Linked DNA regions of Homo sapiens: region 2 is linked to region 1. The links are contacts of gene promoters, found by promoter capture Hi-C in human tissues and cell types (Jung and others, 2019). All regions are on one chromosome and are shown on one strand. The core of a region is centred on a gene start or on the middle of the fragment in contact, and the rest is flanking DNA. Distances in the headings are between cores, read along the strand shown.

Evidence for each region. The method cuts DNA at HindIII sites, captures the fragments that hold promoters and counts their contacts. A contact is called where the count stands out against the background at its distance.
Region 2: a fragment that was not itself captured here is called in contact with the fragment with the promoter of TAS2R10 in region 1 in 2 of the 25 tissues and cell types used here (psoas muscle and small bowel).

Annotation. Positions count from the first base shown.
Region 1 is chr12:10,823,513-10,828,871 of GRCh38, reverse strand. It overlaps TAS2R10 (taste 2 receptor member 10), which reads left to right and starts at 2,514. Exons shown (of 1, transcript NM_023921.2): 1 at 2,514-3,653. The coding sequence starts at 2,603. The coding sequence ends at 3,526. The HindIII fragment of the contact is 9,660 bases long and covers 1,517-5,359 here.
Region 2 is chr12:10,788,339-10,793,697 of GRCh38, reverse strand. No RefSeq gene overlaps it. Among named protein-coding and RNA genes, the nearest start is that of TAS2R7, 12 kb to the left of the region's middle. The HindIII fragment of the contact is 8,880 bases long and covers 1-5,359 here.

The DNA of each region.
Region 1 (5,359 bases), core at 1,265-3,764:
TATCTCTAAGGACTGTAGTAATTTGTATTTTCTTTTGACCAACATTAGTATATTACTGTACCTAATTCTTTTCTATCGGTGATTTCTGCTGTTACTATAATTTCTTGACTTCTATTTTCTTTCACTCTTAGCTTTCTAGCTTCTTGAGATGAAAACAAAATTCATCTGTTTTTACCCTGCCTTTCTAAAAGATGCATTCAAGGCTACAAATTTCCTTCAAAGAATGGCTTTAATTGGATTATGTAAATTTTAATAGGTCATTTCTTTATTACACGTTGAGTATCCCTAATCCAAAAATCTGAAATTTGAAATGCTCCAAAATCTGAAACTCTTTGAGCGCTGACATGACGCTCAAAGGATATGCTCATTGGAACATTTTGGATTTCAAATTTTTGAATTCGAGATGCTTAATCAGTATGATGCAAATGTTCCAAAACTTAAAAAAAAAGAAAAAAAAATCCGAAATCCAAAGCTCTCTGGTCTCACACATTTCAGATAAGGGATACACAACCTGTATTATTTACTTAAAAATATTTTTGTAATTTTTGTTATTTCTTCTTTGACTCAAGAGTATTTACAGGTTTTTTGTCTTAGTAAATTGTTTCTTTCTCTAGTTATCTTTTTATTATTGAACTTCATTTTATTCCTTTGAATTCAGAGAACATTCAACACTTGTGAGATATTCTTTTGGATTCATGATCAGTCTTGGTAAAAATAGTCTATGTGCACTTGAAAAGAATATGAATTATTTTACCGTTGAACACAAGTTTGTCAATTGTTTTTTCATGTATTTTCCATCTATTGATTTTTGGTGTTTCTAAGATGAGTTATTGAGTTATGTATTTTACAGTCTTTCATTGTGATTGTAGATTTGTCTTATTTTTCCTTTTCTGTAAATGTTTGGTAGATTATTTGGTTCATAAATTTTTGGGATTACCCTACCTTTCTGTAGATTTGAGCATTTTTATCACTATAAAGTACACTCCCCATTTCTTCTCTAATGCTGCTTCTTACCTTAAAGTCTGCTTTATAGAATATTGTTATAATTATGCCAGATTTCTTTTGGATGATGTTTGCATGGCTTATTTTTCCATAATTTTACTTTAAAGTTTTCCTTTTCTATATTTAAATTGTGTTTCTTGTAAGCAGTATACAGTCAGAGTTTTAAATTCTTCTTTGTTACTATTAATTTTTTACTTGGAGTATTTAGTTCATTTACATTTTATATAATTATATTCTCCATTTCTAGAAGTTTTTTCCCCAAATGTTCCAATTTCTTTCTAACAGTCTCTTGCTGCTCTTCTCTGAAATTGCATCTTGTTTTTTGTAAACAGTGTATACATTAGCTAATTTATCTATACATATTCTTATCTGTCAATTTCAGTATGTGCAGCCCATGAGAATTTAAGTTTTCTACTTGCTTTTGGTTGGTTTGTTTTGTTTTGCTATCATTTGTAGTCTATTCCTAAGCTTAATTTAACTTCATTTTGAAATCATTGTGCAATTTTATTTATGGTAGTCATGCCAGGATAAGTGAGAGAAGGTCTTCTTTTCTCCAAAGCTTAGTTTATTCATATTTAATGTAAATACAAAAATAGCCCCTCTTTTAAAGGATTGAAGGCTTGTGAAATTAAGATGAGAAAAAGATACTTAACATAGCGCTAGGAATATAATAAAAGCTCAATAAATGTTAGATTTCACTTTTAATTTCACTTTTAATTCTTAGATCAGTATGTTGATTTACTTAATTGTTTCCCACCTCCCTCATTAGAATATACACTCCATAAATCACACAAGTTTTGAAATTCTGTCTACCACTATATTCCCTCAAAGATCAAAAGAGAGCTTGTTGTATCTAGACATTCAGTAAATACTTGTTGGATAAATGAATGGGTGCCAGCAAACAGTAATGTGTTAAATGAAGAGATTATTCCTAAGAGCCTTTCATGTCAAGGGTAGTCAACATAATCTTCTGCATTCAAGGGTGTAATAACCATAAGTATAAAACAACAGCAACAGATTTGTGACATATTTGTGAAACTTGTCATACCTAGAGTTGAGCTTAAATTTTAATTAAAAATTAAATCGATCATTTAGAGTAAGTATCTACAGTGGCTAAATTTGTTTTTCATTTCTATATAGTATTTTCTGTACATATATAAATTGATTATAAATGACATAAATAATGATTTGATATTTTAAAAGATAAAGTCAAAATTTTTGTTTCTGTTTTGCATTACATTCTATAGGTATATGTTTGGCACTCCTCCTCCACAATTCAATTTATTAAATGCAAAATAGTCTCAGGAGGACATGTAAAATCCATGAAACAGAAACTTTCATTTGCATTTTAACAAATTATAGATAGGCATTCAGTCTGAACATACATTCTCCAGACTAGCTATGTTTTGTAGACATATTTGGAAAGGTCTTCATTAAGAAATTTCTGATTCCATCTCAAGCCATTACTGGGGCAATTTCAAGTCTTTATATAATGAAAGAGAAGAAAGTCACACTTCCGTCGAGCAGCCAATATATGCCTCATTCTGCAGCAGGTAATCTAAGATAGATGTAACAGAAGCAATATTAAGAATTAGCAGATATGCTACGTGTAGTGGAAGGCATCTTCATTTTTGTTGTAGTTAGTGAGTCAGTGTTTGGGGTTTTGGGGAATGGATTTATTGGACTTGTAAACTGCATTGACTGTGCCAAGAATAAGTTATCTACGATTGGCTTTATTCTCACCGGCTTAGCTATTTCAAGAATTTTTCTGATATGGATAATAATTACAGATGGATTTATACAGATATTCTCTCCAAATATATATGCCTCCGGTAACCTAATTGAATATATTAGTTACTTTTGGGTAATTGGTAATCAATCAAGTATGTGGTTTGCCACCAGCCTCAGCATCTTCTATTTCCTGAAGATAGCAAATTTTTCCAACTACATATTTCTCTGGTTGAAGAGCAGAACAAATATGGTTCTTCCCTTCATGATAGTATTCTTACTTATTTCATCGTTACTTAATTTTGCATACATTGCGAAGATTCTTAATGATTATAAAACGAAGAATGACACAGTCTGGGATCTCAACATGTATAAAAGTGAATACTTTATTAAACAGATTTTGCTAAATCTGGGAGTCATTTTCTTCTTTACACTATCCCTAATTACATGTATTTTTTTAATCATTTCCCTTTGGAGACACAACAGGCAGATGCAATCGAATGTGACAGGATTGAGAGACTCCAACACAGAAGCTCATGTGAAGGCAATGAAAGTTTTGATATCTTTCATCATCCTCTTTATCTTGTATTTTATAGGCATGGCCATAGAAATATCATGTTTTACTGTGCGAGAAAACAAACTGCTGCTTATGTTTGGAATGACAACCACAGCCATCTATCCCTGGGGTCACTCATTTATCTTAATTCTAGGAAACAGCAAGCTAAAGCAAGCCTCTTTGAGGGTACTGCAGCAATTGAAGTGCTGTGAGAAAAGGAAAAATCTCAGAGTCACATAGACACCTTGGGAAGAGATGGATGTTCCACGAAAGGAATCCAGTGAATAAATCCTTGAAGATCTGTTTCATTGCACTGCATTCTTGCATTGTCTTTTTAACTGTGTCATTAAAGATCACTGAAATCTTCCATAATTGTTTTGACTATGTTTCAGGGAATCTCAGTCTTTGAGGAGATTTTAATCTCACATGCAAATTCAGTGGCTTAGTCAGCTTCCCCACCCTGCAACTTCTTCCTACAAACTTCCTAGAGGAAGACCATCAGCCTGGAGACTATTCGCTGTAAAGATTATAACGGTGAGAATAAGCTCTAAAATAAAACTTCTTGTTGTGCTTTACCTGACTTTTCTGAAGCAAGGACACCCATTCTCCCAGAAAACCCAAAGGAAAAAAAAGAAAGAAAGAAAATTAGATCAATCTTGACATTTAGAACATGGAAGTGAGGATAGATGGTGGTACTTCTTTACAGAATGCTATTTTAATTATTTAAAGGTTTTTTTTTCATTTTTTAGAATCTAACATCCTTTTTTACTGGTGTACGATGTGTAGCAAGTAGTCAGAGGAGTAGATGTAGTTCTGTGAAATATAGTTAGGGAAACAAGGGTCTAGTTGAGGGATATGGGATCAAAACACTGATGAAATAAATATGCTCTTCAAAATCAGTGATTTGAGATAAGGCAGGTTATGAACCAATTAAAGTTGAGTAAAGATTTTTCTAGAAGCATCGATCCAAAGGCTGCAAGATTCAACACAGTCCCTGACCAAAGGACACAAGATGAACACAGGATAGAATCTGGGTGAAATATGAAATGTTCTGTCTTCAGGCTTCATACACACACACACATAAACATGCACACACACACATTCATATACACAAACTTGCACTCACAGAAACGTTTCAAATTTTGAGTTTTAAAGTTAACTTTTATGTCCAACCCAGGTTATAAACTCAGTGACTTATTTTGGCAACTTCCGAAAGTGCCTTGATCTCATACTTATGGCCTAATGAGTGGAATATTTCCAAATATAAGGACTTAATTAATTTTCTATGTCAGGTTTCCAAATCAATATTTTTATATTTTTAAACTATTGTGTTTAGAATGTACAGATAGTTAAGAGATAACAGAAAAAAAAACCTAATGCTGCTGCCTATTTCAACCAAATATACCAGGTTGGCTCATTTGAAATTATATTGTATAAAGAACTATGTTCTCTGTATAGATTATGTTGATTATGTAGAATTTATTCATTTTCCCATGTTTTCAAAAATTATTTGTAATAATCTTTTTAAGGGGTACATAATAACTCCCCTTGCAAATATACAATAATATACTTAGTGTTTATCATATCGTTTACGTTTAAGTTGTCTTCAGTTTTCCACTTTTAGAAATAAACATAATATGAGTATTATAGAGAGTGAATACTATTCATTCATATGAATACTATTTGAATGCTAACTTGGCTAGGTATTGAGGATATAGTAGTGAACAACATACCAATATAATGGATAATATATTCTAATAGAAAACAAATGAATAGCTAGCTAACTTAAACAATGATATTTATGATATTGGGAGAGAAAAACTATAGGATGCTGACCTGACCTGGTCATGAGAATGGACAAGATGTCACTGTGGTTAAGATGGTTTAATTTGATATCTTAATAATGTGTAGGAGTATGGTGGACAAAAGAGGAGAAATTTGGGGTGGGAAACCATCATGTCAAGGCCTTGAAGCAAGAAGGAGTAGAGGGTAGTCCAGAAACTAAAGGTCCAGTGTGACTAATATATAGAGACAGCAGTATGTAAATTATTTTTAAGGAAAATTCCAATGGGG
Region 2 (5,359 bases), core at 2,115-4,614, 36 kb after region 1:
GATAATAACAAACAACTGTTACTGGTATATGTATTTACTATACTTCTATGTATTTACTATACTTCTTATCAGTATCTTAAAGTATACTTCTACTTATAAAAAGAAAGTTAAGTGTAACTTCTGCTTATTTAAAAAAAAGAAATTCATTGTAAAAAGACCTCAGGCAGGTCTTTCAAGAGGTATTCCAGAAGAGCGCAGTTATCCTAGGAGATGGCAGTTCCATGCTTGTAATTGCCCCCAAAGACCTTGCAGTGGGACAAGATGTGGAGGTGGAAGACAGTGATATTTGTGACCCTGACACTGTGTAGACCTAGGCTAATGCGTGTGCTTGTGTCTTAGTTCTTAACAAAAAAGTTTAAAAAATAAAAAAAATTAAACAATAAAAATTTTTATAAAAGAAAAACTTATAGAGTAAGGATATCAAGAAAGAAAATATTTTTGGACAGCTGTACAATGTGTTTGTGTTTTAGCCTAAGTGTTACTACAAAAGAGTCAAAAAGTTTAAAAAATGATCAATAAAAAAATTCATAGTAGGCTAAGGTCGATTGATTACTGAGAAAAGATAATTTTTTAAATAAGCTTAATGTAACCTAAGCATACAGTGTCTATAAAGTCTACTGTAATGTACGGTAATATCCTAGGCCTTCACATTCACTCACCACTCACACATTGACTCACCCAGAGCAACTTCCAGTCCTGCAAGCTTCATTCATGGTAAGTTCTTGATGGTAAGTTCTCCATTCATGGAAAGGCCGTGTCCCCACCCAAATCTCACCTTGAATTGTAATAATCCCCATGTGTCAAGGGCAGGTCCAGGTAGAGGTAATTGAATCGTGGGGGTGGTTACCTTCATGTTGTTCTTGTAATAGTGAGTGAGTTCGCACGAGATCTGATGGTTTTATAAAGGACTTTGCCCCCTTTTGCTCAACACTTCTCTTGCCCGCCACCATGTAAGATGTGCCTTTGTTCTTCCTTCACCTTCCATCATAACTGTGAGGCCTCTTCAGCCACCTGAAACTGTGAGTCCATTAAACTTCTTTTTCCTTATAAATTACCCAGTCACAGGCATGTCTATTAGCAACGTGAGAACAGACTAATATAATAAATTGGTACCAGGTCGTGGGGCACTGCTGTAAAGATACCGAAAATGTGGAAGCAACTTTGGAAATGGGTAACAGGCAGAGGTTGGAACAGTTTGGAGGGCTCAGAAGAAGACAGGAAAATGTGACAAAGTTTGGAACTTCCTAGAGGTTTGGAGTACTCAGAAGACAAAAAGATGTGGGAGAGTTTGGAACTTCCTAGAGACTGGTTGAATGGCTTTGACCAAAATGCTGATAGCGATATGAACAATAAGGTCCGGGTTGAGGTGGTCTCAGATGAAGATGAGGAACTTTTGGGAACTGAAGTAAAGGTCACTCTTGCTATGCGAAGAGACTGGTGGCATTTTGCCTCTGCAATAGAGTTCTGTGGAACTTTGAGAGAGATGATTAAGGGTATCTGGAAGAAGAAATTTTTAAGTGGCAAAATGGTTCAAGAGGAAGCAGAAAATAAAAGTTTGGGAAATTTGTAGCCTGACAATGCAGTAAAAAAGAAAAACCCATTTTCTGGGAAGAAATTCAAGCCTGCTACAGAAATTTGCGTAAGTAATGAGAAGCCCAATGTTAATCACCAAGACAATGGGGAAAACGTCTTCGGGGCATGTCAGAGACCTTTGCAGCAGCCCCTCCCATCTCAGGCCCAGAGGCCTAGGAGGAAAAAAATGGTTTCAGGGGCTGGCCCCAGGGCCGCCCTGTTGTGTGCAGCCTAGGGACTTAGTGCCCTGCATCCCAGCTGCTCCAGCCATGGCTAAAAGGGGCCAAGGTACAGCTCAGGTCATGGCTTCAGGGGGTACAAGCCCCAAGTTTTGGCAGCTTCCATGTGGTGTTGAGTCTGCAGGTGCACAGAAGTCAATAATTGAGGTTTGGGAACCTCCACCTAGATTTCAGAGAATGTGTGGAAATGCGTGGATGTCCAGGCAGAGGTGTGCTGCAGGGGCTGGGCCCTCATGGAGAACTTCTGCTAAGGCAGTGTGGAAGGGAAATGTGGGGTTGGAGACCTCACACAGAGTCCCCACTTGGGCACTGCCTAGTGGAGCTGTGAGAAGAGGGTCACCATCCTCTACACCCCAAAATGGTAGATCCACCAACAACTTGCACCATGTACCTGGAAAAACTGCAGACACTCAACACCAGCCTGTGAAAGCAGTCAAGAGGGAGGTTGTACCTTGCAAACCCACAGAGGCGGAGCTGCCCAGGGCTGTGGCAGCCCACCTTTTGCATCAGCATAACCTAGATGTGAGACATGGAATCAAAAGAGATCATTTTGGAGCTTTAAGATTTGACTGCCCCATTGGATTTTGGACCTGCATGGGGCCTGTAGCCCCATGCTGTGGGCAATTTCTCCCATTTGGAATGGGTGTATTTACCCAATGCCTGTACTGCCACTGTATCTGGAAAGTAACTAAATTGCTTTTAATTTTACAGGTTCCTAGGTGGAAGAGACTTGCCTTGTCTCAGATGAGACTTTAAACTGTTGACTTTTGAGTGAATGCTGAAATGACTTAAGACTTTGGGGGACTGCTGGGAAGGTATGATTGGTTTTGAAATGTGAGGACATGAGATTTGGGAGGGGGCGGGATGATATGGTTTGGCTGTGTCCCCACCCACATCTTACTTCGAATTGTAATAATCCCCATGTGTTAAGGGCAGGCTCAGGTGGAGGTAATTGAATCACTGGGGCAGTTACCCTTATGCTGCTCTCGTGATAATGAGCGAGTTCTCACAAGATCCGATAGTTTTATATGAAGCTTTTCCCCCTTTTGCTCGGCACTTCTCTTGCCTGCCGTCATGTAAGAGACGTCTCTGCTCCTCCTTTACCTTCCACCTTGATTGTGAGGCCTCCCTAGCCATGTGAAACTGTGAGTCTATTGAATCTCTTTTTCTTTATAAATTACCCAGTCTCAGGTATGTCTTTATTAGCAATGTGAGAGCACACTAATACAGTTCTCTATATAGGTGTATTGTTTTTTAATCTTTTATACTATATTTTTACTATACCTTTTCTATGCTTAGTATGCACAAATACAACTCTGTTACAAGTGCCTACAGTTTTCAGTGCAGTGACATGCTGTACAAGTTTGTAGTCTAGGAGCAATAGGCTGCACCATATAGCCTAGGTGTGTAGTAGGCTATGCCACCTAGGTTTTTGTGAGTACACTAAATCATGTTCACACAATGATAAAATCACCTAACAACACATTTTTCAGGTGTATTGCCATCATTAAACAATGCATGACTGTATTTTATTTTATAGAAGTATCCAGGTAGTAGAGAGAGGTGGGTACAGTTATTCACAAGGAAATAAAATTCAGGCTTGCCTAATAAACATAAAAAACAATAATATATGACACATAAAGTTAAGGAATTGTACACTAAAGCTAGGAGATGCCATTTTCTAAATGTGAAATCAGCAGGGGTGACGTATTTGGTGAAAAGTATCAATTAATACAAACAACTTGGAAAAAGATTTGGCAGTAGGTACTAAAGCCAAACATGCCCATATTCTATGACCTAGCAATTTTTGTTCCAGAAATAGACACAACAGTAATGTAAGATATGTGCACTAAAAAATGTGTATGATTATTAACAGTATGATTTGAAATAGCCCAAATTAGAAATAACTCATATGCCTGTCAGCAGGAAAATAGATGAGTAAATTGTAGTATAGTCATGGAATGGAATATTATATAGCAATGAAAATAACACTACTCCTACCATACTCATAGAAAATGCTGAGTGAAAGAAACTGAACTGGGAAGAGTAAATATTATATTGTTACACTTTACATAAAGTTTGAAACAGTAAAACTAATCAACATGAAAGATATGTGTACAGGCAGTGGAGAGTAGTATCTGAGAAACAGTACAAGGGATTCCTTTGGAGTGTTATAATATAATGTAAAATATTCGTGTATGACTTAGTGAGCTGGACTGCATTACATAGATGTGTTTGCTGTATAAATATCTGTAAATCTGCATAGTTATAATTTGTACATTTTTCTAGAGGTATATTACATTTTAACAATATTTACTTAAAAATTATTAATTACATGATATACATTTGTGTACACTATATAATTTGTTTAAAACTTTGTTAGTAAGAATATAGGAAGCAGCCATTCTCTTATACCTTTGGGGAGTTCAAATTGATGCAATTTTTGGAAGACCAGTTGTACAAACTATCAACATGTAAAGTGTGCCTGGTGTTTTATCCAGAAATCTCAGTCTTAGAATTTATCCTGCAACTATTATTGCATAATAGGTAAATAAATGAATAAGAAATTTTATTGCAGCACTGCTTATAATAGCAAAATACTGGTAACAATATAAATGTTCATCAAATTTGTTAAATAACTTATAGATCACCAATACAAAAAATATATAATTCAGTTATTAAAAAGAATTCAGGAGATATAAATGTGTGGCATGCATATGGAATTATATCCTAACTATATTATTAAATAAAAACAAAGATTAGCATGATCCCATTTCTACATAAAAGGAATATGTATACACATATATATAATGATTTTTTCACTCAGCATTTTGTTGAATGTAGCAGTAGTGTGTTCATTTTCATTTTTATTAATAGCAGTGACCATTTTTCTTTCATTTTCATTAATATAAATTGGTGTAAAACTAAGTGCAGTTTTGCCATCACTTACTTTTGCACCAACCTAATATATGCATATATATATGAGACAGATTTGTGTTCAGAAAATATTTCAAATTACAGACAAAAATGTTATTAGTGATGTATTTCTGGAAATGAAATTGTGGTGGAAGTCAGTAAGACTTTTTCTGTTTATGCTCCTATGTTGTTTAAACATTAATGATAAGTTTTAACATTTTTAAAATACTGTTAAAAATGAAGACCCTAGCCAGCAAGCTGTAGTCTAATAAAATGAAAAAGAACTACCCTGCAATTTGCCTTAAGTCTTAACTTCCCACTTCCTGATTTGCTTCTGCCAGGTTCAGATCTTGGCCTTTAAGCATCACTTGAAGTCTAGTTTTTGCTCCAGTAAACACTTGACACCTTCCTTTCTATCATCCAATAATTAAATTGTTTTAGCCTTTAATTCCACATGGCTCTATGAGGCTTTGACCTTTACCTGCTTTCACTGATAATTGACCTTCATTTTACTCCCTAAAGCCTTCTTCCAAATGTAACTTTTACCTTCACCCCCTGCTCTTTAGAATTAATGAGTCATGATCTTGATTTTAATATTCATATGCCCAAACTTGAGACTGACAATATATGCC